Linked DNA regions of Homo sapiens: region 2 is linked to region 1. Evidence: promoter capture Hi-C in 16 types of primary human blood cells and fetal thymus (Javierre and others, 2016). All regions are on one chromosome and are shown on one strand. The core of a region is centred on a gene start or on the middle of the fragment in contact, and the rest is flanking DNA. Distances in the headings are between cores, read along the strand shown. Region 1 holds the start of ZNF326 (zinc finger protein 326). Region 2 overlaps LRRC8C (leucine rich repeat containing 8 VRAC subunit C).

What was found. The method cuts DNA at HindIII sites, captures the fragments that hold promoters and counts their contacts. A CHiCAGO score of 5 or more calls a contact.
Region 2: a fragment that was not itself captured here is called in contact with the fragment with the promoter of ZNF326 in region 1 in 2 of 17 cell types (erythroblasts and naive B cells); the score reaches 5.4 in erythroblasts.

Annotation. Positions count from the first base shown.
Region 1 is chr1:89,990,700-89,996,888 of GRCh38, reverse strand. It overlaps ZNF326 (zinc finger protein 326), which reads right to left and starts at 1,779. Exons shown (of 12, transcript NM_182976.4): 1 at 1,616-1,779. The coding sequence starts at 1,631. It also overlaps the pseudogene GEMIN8P4. RefSeq lists enhancers at 1,064-1,113, 995-1,560, 1,561-2,127 and a silencer at 1,334-1,973. The HindIII fragment of the contact is 7,808 bases long and covers 479-6,189 here.
Region 2 is chr1:89,702,751-89,708,787 of GRCh38, reverse strand. All of the region lies in intron 2 of LRRC8C (leucine rich repeat containing 8 VRAC subunit C), which reads right to left. Among named protein-coding and RNA genes, the nearest start is that of LRRC8C, 73 kb to the right of the region's middle. The HindIII fragment of the contact is 3,503 bases long and covers 2,044-5,546 here.

The sequences.
Region 1 (6,189 bases), core at 530-3,029:
TAGCCTCTGCTATACCTTGGGTGTTGGCATTATCATCAAACTACAGCATGAAAATACAATAATATATTTTTTATTTTCACTCCCAACTCTGGCCACTTCAAATATTCATAGTTTTTTGTTTTGTTGTTGGTTTTTTGTTTTTTTTTTTTCAGACGAAGTTTGGCTCTTGTTGCCCAGGCTAGAGTGCAATGGCACGATCTCGGCTCACTGCAACCTTCGCCTCCCGGGTTCAAGGGATTCTTCTGCCTCCGCCTCCCAAAGTGCTGAGATTACAGGTGTGAGCCATCGTGCCCAGCCCAAATATTCATAGTTTAAAGGTATCTACATCAAAATGAGTTAAAGTCCAACCAAAACAAACAAAACCACGAGAGTGTGCTACTCTTAAGAGCTGAACTTACTATTTCAAAGTAACTGAAAAGTATCTACAAGAGGGCTATTCCAGTCCCCTTTCACAAATCTGTACCTAGATATGAAAGCTTTAATTCTTTGTTGCATGAAATGTTATGAAAAATCAAAAGCTCATCGAGTAAGACATATGCTGAGATCACACCTCATTTAAAGATCATTTTTTTGGTGGGGTTAAAAGTTTACAGCCTACTTAGTGAACTGGTTTTACTTAAGCATGCCTGGTTACTCAGGATTAAATCCAGTTTAATCACATAAGTCCTTTCCCATGTCTCCCTAATGTTGTCACTACATACCACTTTATCTTGACACCAATTCCAAGCAAGGTTTGAAAACAAAAGTGAAGACCAAATTAATATTACTTTGTGACCCTGTAAAAGTGGTTTAAAGAATTAGTATCTGAGACAACTGAAAAGTATTGCTAAAATACAGTTTATTTAATCCGTAAGTCAAACACTTACAAGGCTGTGTACAGGTCTAAATGTGAAGGACATTTGATGCTTGCTGTGCCAAAATTCTGATTAACTTAAATCCTACCTACACACGATCCAAAGAAAAGTGCTTTGGTTCACATAAATATTTCAAGTTAGGGATTAATAAGCAGGTAATTTTTGGTGATAAACACCCCAGTTTACTAACCAGGAAACATCTTGCTTTCCATTTTGCATAGATATTTATCTATACATATCACTTACAGACACCCTTTCAACTCATCTTAAACCGGGACAAACAGAAACATCACTGTGAACAAGCCTCTGAAAATTCTATCTGGCAAGAAGTAACCCGAGGCTGAGGATTAACTAAACGGACGGTCTGGGTCGCTGCCCTGTGGGGCGAATGCGAGACTAGGTGGGTGAGGCCGCACTCGCCCGTTTGCCCGAGACCGGGAAGTTGGAGACGTCGGGGCAATTTCCACTACCAGGGGCCAAGGCGAGTCTGGGGCTCCAGCCCGGAGGCTCTCGCGCTCTAGGCGCGTCCTACCGGACACCGAGTTCTCTTGTCTCCGCCGGCAGCGGGCGCCGAGCGGGCCGAATCGGGGCGCGTGGGTCCCCAAAGAGGCCGACTCCGGGCGCTGGGCCCGGGGCGGGCGGGCGGCCTCCGGGCCCGCAGAACAAAGCCCACACGGCCATCTTGAGACGGTAAACAGACCCCCTGCGTAGGCCACCCCGCCTCCTGCCAGCTGCGCCGACCAGCCAGAGGCAGCGCTTACCGTCCTCGAAGTCCATGGCAGAGGCTGAGGGCCGTCGGCCTTGGCGGCGCTAGGCTGAGCTATGGCCGGCGGCGAGCGTCCGCGACCCGCGATTCCACACGATCACTCCGCGCGACCGAGAGCGGCGCGCTACCAGCCCGGGAGCCGCAGGCCACAGCGAGGCTGGGGAGGCGGGGCCGACCGGCGCTACCAGCCCCATCGGCGCGGCCTGCTATTGGCTGACGCGGGCTGGTGGGCGGGCCCTCGCGTGGGGGGCGGGAAGCAGGTCCGCTGTCACGCTCGGAGGTGCTGACCCTCTGGAGCCGCTGACGGGGAAGGAAGGTAAAAAAGGAGCGCTAAAGATTGGCGGGGGTTGTGGGAAAGCAAGCCGAGTGTACGGGAAGGGCCGGCTGCGGCCCGCCATGTTTGAACCTGGCAAGAGCGAAAGAAGCCGGTTGGAATGCCTTCTTCCTGCCCAAACTAATAAAACCGCATGCCTACCTTTTGCTTAGTATTGGCTAGGGATGACTAATCATAACATTTGTAAGTACTTACGGGGTTTCCTCCATGGAGACACAGAAGTCTGGGACGTTTCTAGAAGCCTGTGGCAAATTTGAAAAGCAAGATACAAAATAGCGTATGGAGTCTGATTATCGCTATGTCAATAAATTTTCTTAAAGGACAAAGCACTGAAATAAAATGGAAATAATAATTCTTTTAAAAAATTTTTAAATTATTTTTATAGAGATGGGGGTTTTGCCATGTTGCCCAAGCAGGTCTCCAACTCCTGGACTCAAGCGATCCCCCCACCCCCAGCCCCGTCTCCGCCTCCCAAAGTGTTAGGATCACAGGCGTGAGCCAATGCGACCCGCCTGGAAAGAATTCTAAAACATGGCCTGCTTGGCCACCGCCCAGGATCTGCAAGCTGCGCGCCCACAAGTTTCGGCACCCATTTGGACTTTCACAATCGGAGATGGCAGTGGTGAAGGCATCAACATCAAAAGCTACCAGGCCTTGGTATTCTCATCCAGTATATGCAAGATACTGGCAACATTATCATCAAGCAATGGCTTGGATGCAAAGCCACCACAATGCCTACAGGAAGGCGGTGGAATCCTGTTTCAGTCTTCCATGGTTCTTCCTTCCTGCGCTTCTTCCCCAAAGCTCTTACGATAACCAGGCTGCGTATCCTCAGTCCTTCTATGACCATCATGTGGCCTAGCAGGACTCCCCCTGCAGTTCTTCACATTTCAGAGGGTCTGGGCAACATCCACATGGCAGCAGTAGGATCCAGGCATCCACAAGAGAAGACCAAGCCTTATCCAAGGAGGAAGAGATGGAGACCGAGTCAGATGCAGAGGTAGCATGTGACCTGAGCAATATGGAAATCACCGAAGAGCTCCGCCAGTACTTTGCAGAGACAGAGAGGCACAGAGAAGAACTACTGCGGCGGCAACAGCTGGATGCGGAGCGCCTGAACAGCTACGTGAACGCTGAACACGACCTGTACTGCAACACCCGCCGGTCGGTAGAGGCCCCAGCTGAGAGGCCTGGTGAGCGGCGCCAGGCCGAAATGAAGCGTTTGTACTGGGACAGCGCCGCCAAGATCCAGGCCATGGAGGCTAACGTGCAGCTGAGCTTTGACAAGCACTGTGATCCAAAGCAGCCTAATTACTGGCCGGTCATCCCCCCGAAGTTCTGAGCTCGGGGCACAGGGCACCCAGCCTCTTCCTCTTCCTTTTGGATACGCGCTCTTCATCTCTCCTTCTGTACATTTCTCAGGGAAAGGGGACTTTGTACTGAGGTACAGGCACGTTCACCACAGTCCCAGTGGGCCTGTCACGGGGTGGATGTACTGTGCCAGCCACTTGGAGGTCGGCAGGACATATTCTGTTGCCAACATGATAAATTTTATCCTGACATAAAATGATAATTTTGTATATATTATACTGGTTTTTTATGTTGTCAGTAACAGTTCAATTCATTAAAGTTCTTGCCTAGAAAAAAAAAAAAGAATTCTAAAACATGAACGATGATTCTTTTTGTGATGACTTTTTATATACACATGATTATGTGTTCTTCTATATCTCCAAATTCTTGAGCACTTTCATAATGTAAAATATATATTTGGCCTAAAACAAGATTTATTATTTATTAATGATTAGTGTTTGTTAAAAGTTCTCTTTAGCCAAATATTATGTTTCATTTTCTTTGAAGATATACTTAGTGATGCGGAGGTGGGGGGCTCTCTTGGCCATTTAAGTCAGTGGTTCTTGATTGTGACTCTACTCTGGAATCCTCCAGGGCACTTTTAGTAAGTGCCAATACTCAGGTTTCACTTCAGGGGTTCTGATTTGATAATGAACCAAAACTGTCACCAATGTTTATTTTCAAGACATTTAAAAGAGATGTTATTGGACTAATTTCTCTTCTGTTTCAGTAACCTGTACTCCTTGAGAAAATGTCAAGTCTAGAAAAAATAACTTTAGAGACAGGCTATGATCCAGTTCTGAATTTTAAGGTGCAAATAAAAGAGCTGTAACAGTTCACAGATGGGTAAGATTTGTGGCAGAAGAGTCATCCAGAGCTTGAAGGATGACCTATAGAAACACACACACACATACTGGATTGTATTATTGCCACTTTGGAAACAGTGTTTGAGACATGGACAAAGTTATTCAAACATTCAGGAATCTGGAAAAAGACAAACTGACATTGGAGCAGTTTGAACCACAGATTAAAAAACTTTTTTTTTTTCATAGAGCAAACGGTGGCAACAATGAGTTGATCACCAGATAGGAAACCATGAATCAAATTATTTACCTTTTTTCAGGGTCCACCCAGTTGCTGGAACCAAGTTTCAAGGAGGCAACCTCTGGAAATACAACTACAAGAAAAGCTCACAGATACACTATGTGTATTACTGTTGCCCCGGAAATGGGCAGAGCATTTTTTCCTCCTCCATCCTGATTGATTCACCCTGTTCTCCACCCTTTTCTTGTTTCCTCCTTTTTTCCCTTCTATGCAGATACTTCTCCACTTACTTGAGGTTACATCCCAATAAGCCCTTCATAAACTGAAAATATCACAAGTCAAAAATGCATTTAATATGCCTAACCTATTGAACATCATAACTTCACCTAACCTACCTTAAATGTGCTTAGAACATTTACATTAGCCTACAGTTGGGCAAAGTCATCTGGCAGCACAGTACATTGTAGAATATCAGTTGTTTACCCTTGTGATTACATCGCTGACTGGGAGACGCTGCCCAGCCTTGGAAAAGAGTATCCTACTTCATGTCACTAGCCTGCAAAAAGATCAAAATTCAAAATTGGATTATAGTTTCTACTAAATGCACGTCACTTTCACACAGCTATAAAGTCAAACCATAGTAAGTCAGAGACCATCTATACATGTTTTATATTCACCTAAGCTGAACATTTTGAAAACTGAACTCATAATTTCAAACCTGTTCGTCCTCCTGTATCCTTTCATCTCTGTTAGTGGCATCATGAACAGCCACACACTAATCCCAGCTTACGAGTCATCTAGTCAAAACTCAGCCCTCCCTCATCCTCCCACCTCCAATCCATTCTGAAGTCTTTCATCTGTTTATTAGTGCCTAAAATATCTTAAACCTGCCCCCTCCTCTTCATCCCCACTGCCACAACCTAAGTTTAGACTCTCATTATCTCTCTCCAAAACTATTGCCTCAGCTTCCTAATTAATCTCTCTGTCTTTCAGCCTCCTCAGGGTTGCAGTGATCTAAATGCAAATCTCAACATGTCATCATGCGTCTCTGTCAAGGATTAGGTGTAGTCAAATCTCCTTACCCTAGAACACATGCAGCAGGATCTGGCCACTGCCTGAACTGCGTCATCTCTCTGCATTTCCCTTGCCTCCTCTCTCCCACACTCTCTCTTTTGATTACCAATTTTAGGCGACAGGTTCCCAAAACACCCCTGTGCTTTTTCATACCACTGAACTTTTGCTTATGTTGTTTCCTCTGCTTGGAACACCACCTGGTTAACCGTACTCATCTTCAAAACACAGCTCAGGATTTATTTCCTGTAAGAATCAGTCCCAGATCCCAACCCCACCCCCTGGGTCAGTACTTCTCAAATATTTAGCATGCAAATGATTCACCTAGGGACTTGTTAAGACAAAAATCACATTCAGTCAGTCTTGGGTGGAACTGGACAGTCTGTATTTCTAACAAACTTCCAGGAGATGCTGCCGCTGGTGGAGCCACACGTGGAGTAGGAAGGCCTTGGGTTCTGTGACTGCACTATCTCCCATGCATTAAATACCCTGGCTTTATGTCTTCCCACATTAAAAGCTCTTTGGGATTAGAATCAAGACTTCTTTGCATCTTAAGTGCCAAATATATATGTTTACCAAGAAAACTGAGTTCTCACTGAATGTTTTTAGCTTTTTTTTCTTATAATTTTCCCCCCGTTTTCCTCTGGCAAAGAAATGATTTTGTAGCCTGAGGTCTTTAGGTGTTGGCATGACTAGAAGGGAATAAATATTGGGTCATTGTATTTGTGTGTCATGTGTGTATGTGTGTGCACACACACATACACACACAC
Region 2 (6,037 bases), core at 2,546-5,045, 290 kb after region 1:
TCCAACAGTAAACAGTATGAAGATTTAAACAGTGCAATAGCTATAAGAGAGAGGAAGTTACCCTCCATGTTAAATAGAGACTGTATTTCTGAACACTGCAATGTGGGGAAGAACTGGGAAAAGGATCAGTATTTTCAAAGAGAAAAATAAGAAAAAAAATAAGGCAGGCAGCTTCTTCTTCTTTGTCTTCTTCTTCGTCATCTTCTTCTTCTTCTTCAAAAGGTTAAACAGTGTTTTTGCCATATCTTTGTAACAGCAGCCTGTGAGAATTAGGAAATTTTTGTTTTATCTGTCCTATCCTTTTGAGAAGTCTGCCTAATCAGACCTATACTTCACGTTTCTTTTTCTTTACCCAGTAATGTAAAGATCAGGGTGCAAAACAAGCCTTAAAGAAAGGCTGCAAAACAAATCTCAAAAGAATAGTTGTAGGGTTCCAGGCTGTTGGTACAGGACTAAGACAGAGTGCTTGGAGTAGGGGCAGGGAGAAAGTGCCCAACCGCATCCCCTTCTACAAAGCCTTGAGGTTCAGTGCATCACCAGCAGCTCATCCACACACATTATCACATGGAGCAATTCCGCCATTTTCTTTCAAGGACAACTCTCAGCTGCCTTTGGAGGAAAAAGGCTTGAGAATGGAGTTACGTGGTGCCTTTATGTAGGAAGAGGGAGAGAAAAAGGGGGAAGAAACTGGGGGGAGAAGTGAAGAAAAAAATCAAAATGAACAAGAGAACCTCATCCAAAATGCATAAAAGTGAGAAAAGTTAATATTCTAAAAGCTGCTATAAGAATTCTCAGAATTCTTAGAATGAAATCATTTATGGAAAGGAAAATGTCTAAGTGAAGGAGGAGGAGAGGGACACAGAAGAATGAGACACTGAGAGCAAGGGTCAGATTAAGCCAAGGTACAAAGAGACAGCTAAACTGCCTACTTTACATTGGAGTGAACAGGCTTGGAAGTAGGAGGAGGTGAATCAGGAGAGCACGGACAGGTTAGAAGGGAAGAAGAAAATTAGGTCAAGCCATACAGCAGGTGGCTGGAGTATATGCTCATTATTTCTATTTTGAGATAGAAATACCTTTCAATCTTTCTCAAATCTTTAGTAAAATCTGCTACACACACACACACACACACACACTCACACACACACACACCAGCCACACCTTTTATGAATGCATTTTGTAGAAATCACAGCAAATTTCATGCTGGGATCAAAGCTGTACAGAGTTTACCTGGGCTAGGTAAAAATCTGTAATCTAAAGATTTCCATGGAAGCAGAAACTGGGACCATGGGAACCTAATCCTTCCAGGAACCTGCTGGGGGCATTAGACTGGGGTGTGACCCAATATCCTCTGGATCTGTTTTTTTGTTTTTGTTTTTTTTAGATGGAGTCTTGCTCTGTTGTCCAGGCTGGAGTGCAGTGGCGCAATCTCAGCTCACTGCAACCTCCGCCTCCCGGGTTCAAGTGATTCTTCTGCCTCAGCCTCCCAAGTAGCTGGGACTACAGGTGTGTGCCACCACACCCGACTAATTTTTGTATTTTTAGTAGAGATGCGGTTTCACTATATTGGCCAGGCTGGTCTTGAACTCCTGACCTCAAGTGATCCACCCGCCTCGGCCTCCCAAAGTGCTGGGATTACAGGCATGAGCCACAGCGCCTGGCCTATCCTCTGGATCTTTAGGAACGACTGACATCCAGGAGTATAAAATACTCCTCAAGGCTTCCCAATTAAAGTCCTTGGAGAAAAAAATGTACACATAAACTTGTTCCACAACTGTGATAATATCTATGCAGTACTTATGGAAAAGAAACCCAAGGGTTGCAATAATTGGTTAAATGGATTCACTAAAATTTGGATTCTTCAATTCTGATCTGCAAATCATCATGTTGAGAAAACACAACAGCTATTTTTGAAAAGATAAAAGAGGATCTTGAAGATCCTTCCTCAATTCTAAGGTCAATGAAATAAGCTGAATTTCTTGCTTTTGCTTTCTATGGGGGAGGGGAAGGGTTTCAAGGGAAGCATAGGCCAAAATTCAAGCTTCCTTAAAAAAGAAACAACCCATCCAAACCTGCCTGAAAATGCTGTTCGAATCTAGGAAGAGAAATCAAATGTTTTAAATGGTAACAATCAGATTTAGAGATGCACTGTAAGTGGAGTATGTGCATGCTCTATTGCATACTGAAATACCTTGAATGGTCAACGTGAAATTCGGGCCTTTTAATAGAAATTTTCACTATTTTAAGTCATAATATTTATGGCTACATTTTTGTATGATGTATGTTATTTAAGTCTTAGTCCTTTGTTAGAATCATTAAGACACATCAGGATGACACTTATTTAGGCAGTTGCCAGAAAAGTATGGAAGTGAAAAAGCAGAACCCACCTGTGATAACTAGTTGAAAAGGTACCACATTTGCATGAATGAGACACCAAAGGGCTGAGGTTAAAACAAAATAAAACCACTTAGCTTCAGAGAAACTGCCTGAAATAACAAAGAACATATAAACGAAGGCAGCTTATCTATTACATGCCAGACATGTAGAACATAAATGCTGAATTCTGAGTGTGCCTCAGGAAAAGTCATTCTGCAGTAGTATCTACTATATGTCAGTTGTTATATTTGGGATACCAACAAGAACAAAAAGCCCTTCAAAGTCAAGCACAGGAATGAGACATATAAATCAGTAATTAGTGTGATAAGTGCTCAAATTTGTGCTTGTCTTTCACGATAAACTTTATCATCAGATTACGTAGATACAGGAAAAACAACCCTAGTAGTATTTTTATTGGGATCACTTTATAAGTTAAGAACTGACATGATGTTGATTCTTCCTCCTTATGGTGTGTGTTTTCACTTGTTTGCATCTAATTTTGTGCCTTTCAAGAGTGTTTTACAGTTTTCTCACATAGATTTTGTGCATTATTAAGTTATGTCTGTCTATGTATTTTATTTTTTTGCTACCATAAATCTGTCTTTTAAAAAAACCATTTATTTATTTATTTTTGAGACAGGGTCTTGCTCTGTTGCCAGGCTGGGGTGCAGTGGCGTGATCTTGGCTCACTGCAACCTCCACCTCCCGGGTTAAAGAATTTTCCAGCCTCAGCCTCCTGAGTGGCTGGGACCACGGGCCTGCACCACCATGCCTGGCTAATTTTTGTATTTTTTTGTAGAGATGGGGTTTTACCATGTTGCCCAGGCTGGTCTCGAACTCCTGTGCTCAAAACGATCCACCCACCTCAGTCTCCCAAAGTGCTGGGATTACAGGCATGAGCCACTGCACCCGGCCAAAACATTTATTTATTTATTTTATTTTATTTTATTTTATTTTTGGTTAATCCCTAAATTTCTTTATTATTATTATTATACTTTAAGTTTTAGGGTACATGTGCACAATGTGCAGGTTAGTTACATATGTATACATGTGCCATGCTGGTGCGCTGCACCCACTAACTCGTCATCTAGTATTAGGTATATCTCTCAATGCTATCCCTCCCCCCTCCCCCCACCCCACAACAGTCCCCAGAGTGTGATGTTCCCCTTCCTGTGTCCATGTGTTCTCACTGTTCAATTCCCACCTATGAGTGAGAATATGCGGTGTTTGGTTTTTTGTTCTTGTGATAGTTTACTGAGAATGATGATTTCCAATTTCATCCATGTCCCTATAAAGGACATGAACTCATCATTTTTCATGGCTGCATAGTATTCCATGGTGTATATGTGCCACATTTTCTTAATCCAGTCTATCATTGTTGGACATTTGGGTTGGTTCCAAGTCTTTGCTATTGTGAATAGTGCCACAATAAACATACGTGTGCATGTGTCTTTATAGCAGCATGATTTATAGTCCTTTGGGTATATACCCAGTAATGGGATGGTTGGGTCAAATGGTATTTCTAGTTCTAGATCCCTGAGGAATCGCCACACTGACTTCCACAATGGTTGAACTAGTTTACAGTCCCACCAATAGCATAAAAGTGTTCCTGTTTCTCCACATCCTCTCCAGTACCTGTTGTTTCCTGACTTTTTAATGATCGCCATTCTAACTGGTGTGAGATGGTATCTCATTGTGGTTTTGATTTGCATTTCTCTGATGGCCAGTGATGGTGAGCATTTTTTCATGTGCAAAACATTTATTTTTAACACAGAAGGTAGAGTCCTCCCTTTCCCTTTTCCTATCCCCATTGCCATTCCTTCATGAGCCCTGATAAGTTTGGTGTATACCATTCCAGATCTGTATCTGTGCATTTACATGTATATAATACATAAACAAATAAGATCTTACTATATGTATTGTTCCTGCACCTTGAGTTTTTCTCTTTCATGGTATGTCTTGGAGATGTTAATAGATTGGCACCTGGAGATCTACTTCATTCTAAGTGCCATGGAATTACATATTGTGGATGTGCTATAATTTACTGAAGACATTCCCATGATGACATGCATGTAGGGAGTTTTGCTACTAAAAAGTGTGTTAGTCTCAAAAGGTTACATACTATCTGATTTTACATGGCATTCTGAAAAATAGGACAGAGAGATGAGGACATAGAACAGATCAGAGGTTAAAGGCTGAGGTTGGCGGGTTCATTGCAAAGGTCAGCACCAGGAATTCTTTGGGGTGTTGAGATTCTTCTGTATCCTGTTTGTAGTGGTGGTTACAAGAACCTGTGCATATTAGAAAACTCAAATATATACCTTGTTTAGATAAAGAGTGTATTCTTGAAGATGGGAGGGCTAAATGCTATCTAATATTAACATTACGCTACCAGCTTTTTTGGGTATTTGTGTTATATTATCTTTTAATCTCTATTTTTACTCTTATAATTTTTTTAGGTTTCTGCCTTTTGAATTTTTAAAAATCCAAACTAATCACCCTTTTCTTTTTATAAGTGAACTTAATCCATTATTTTGCTCACTCATATTTGGATATTTGGACTTATTTCTAGATTTTTCATTTTCATTTATACTTTTCCCTTCTCCTTCCTGCCTTCTGCTGCACTGCTCATTTTTTCTCTATCTCCTATTTCCCACCCAACCCCTTCTCAGCTGGTTAGGAAGATAGCGACTGTATTTCTGTTCTTCTAGATGTTATCTATAATTTCTTAAAATGTACAGTTAAAATTTTTAGTATCTCCACACCACTTCCAAGAATATGTTGTAACTACCCACTGAACTATACCAATTTGTTGTTCCCAGAGTTTGTTTTTGCTTTCTTTTGAAACTTTTTTTTTTTTTTTTACAATCTGTACTTGATTGTGTTTGTTTATATATTTATTAAATTATGAGTCACTAGTTTTCTTAGATCCTATAACTTCTCCCTGGGTTCATTTTCCTTTTGGTTGAAGTATACACCTTAATAACTCTTAATAAAAGTCTGTGGATAGGAAACTCATATATCCTGTAAGACTGACAATTCCTATATTGCTTTCATTCTTCAGTAACTATTTGGTAAGTTATACAATTCTGTTTTGATAGTAATTTCCTCTCAGCATTTAAAAATATTATTCCATTTTCCCTGGCTTATATTTTTTCTGATGAGAAGCTTGCTGTCAGTTTGTGTTATTTAGTGCGCAATCTATCTTTAAGGTAGCTTTTAAGATTTTACCTTTAGTCTCAGGATTTTCTGCAGGTTCACTTTAATTTTGAATGTATGTGGATTAATCCTACTCCATATCTGGAGCTAAGGACTTGACTTTCTTTAATTTTGGGAAATTAAAGCAAATATTTCTTCAAATATTGCTCCATCCTTTCTTCCATTTTCTTCTACAACTCCTCTGAGATGTATGTCAGTGTCTCTCAGTCTGTCTTTCATGAGCGTGTGTTTTGATTCCTGTCTTTCTCTGTGCTGGGCTCTGGGTAAACTGAGAACTCTTGTTTAATTCATTACTTCTTTATGCTACTGAGTACAGTCCAGTTATTCTATCTGTTGATATTTTATAATTCATTGACTTTATTTCCAAGATTTCTAAATTTGTTATATCAGCTCTTAAGTCATATCTACCTACTTTATTGATTGATTGATTGAGACAGGGTCT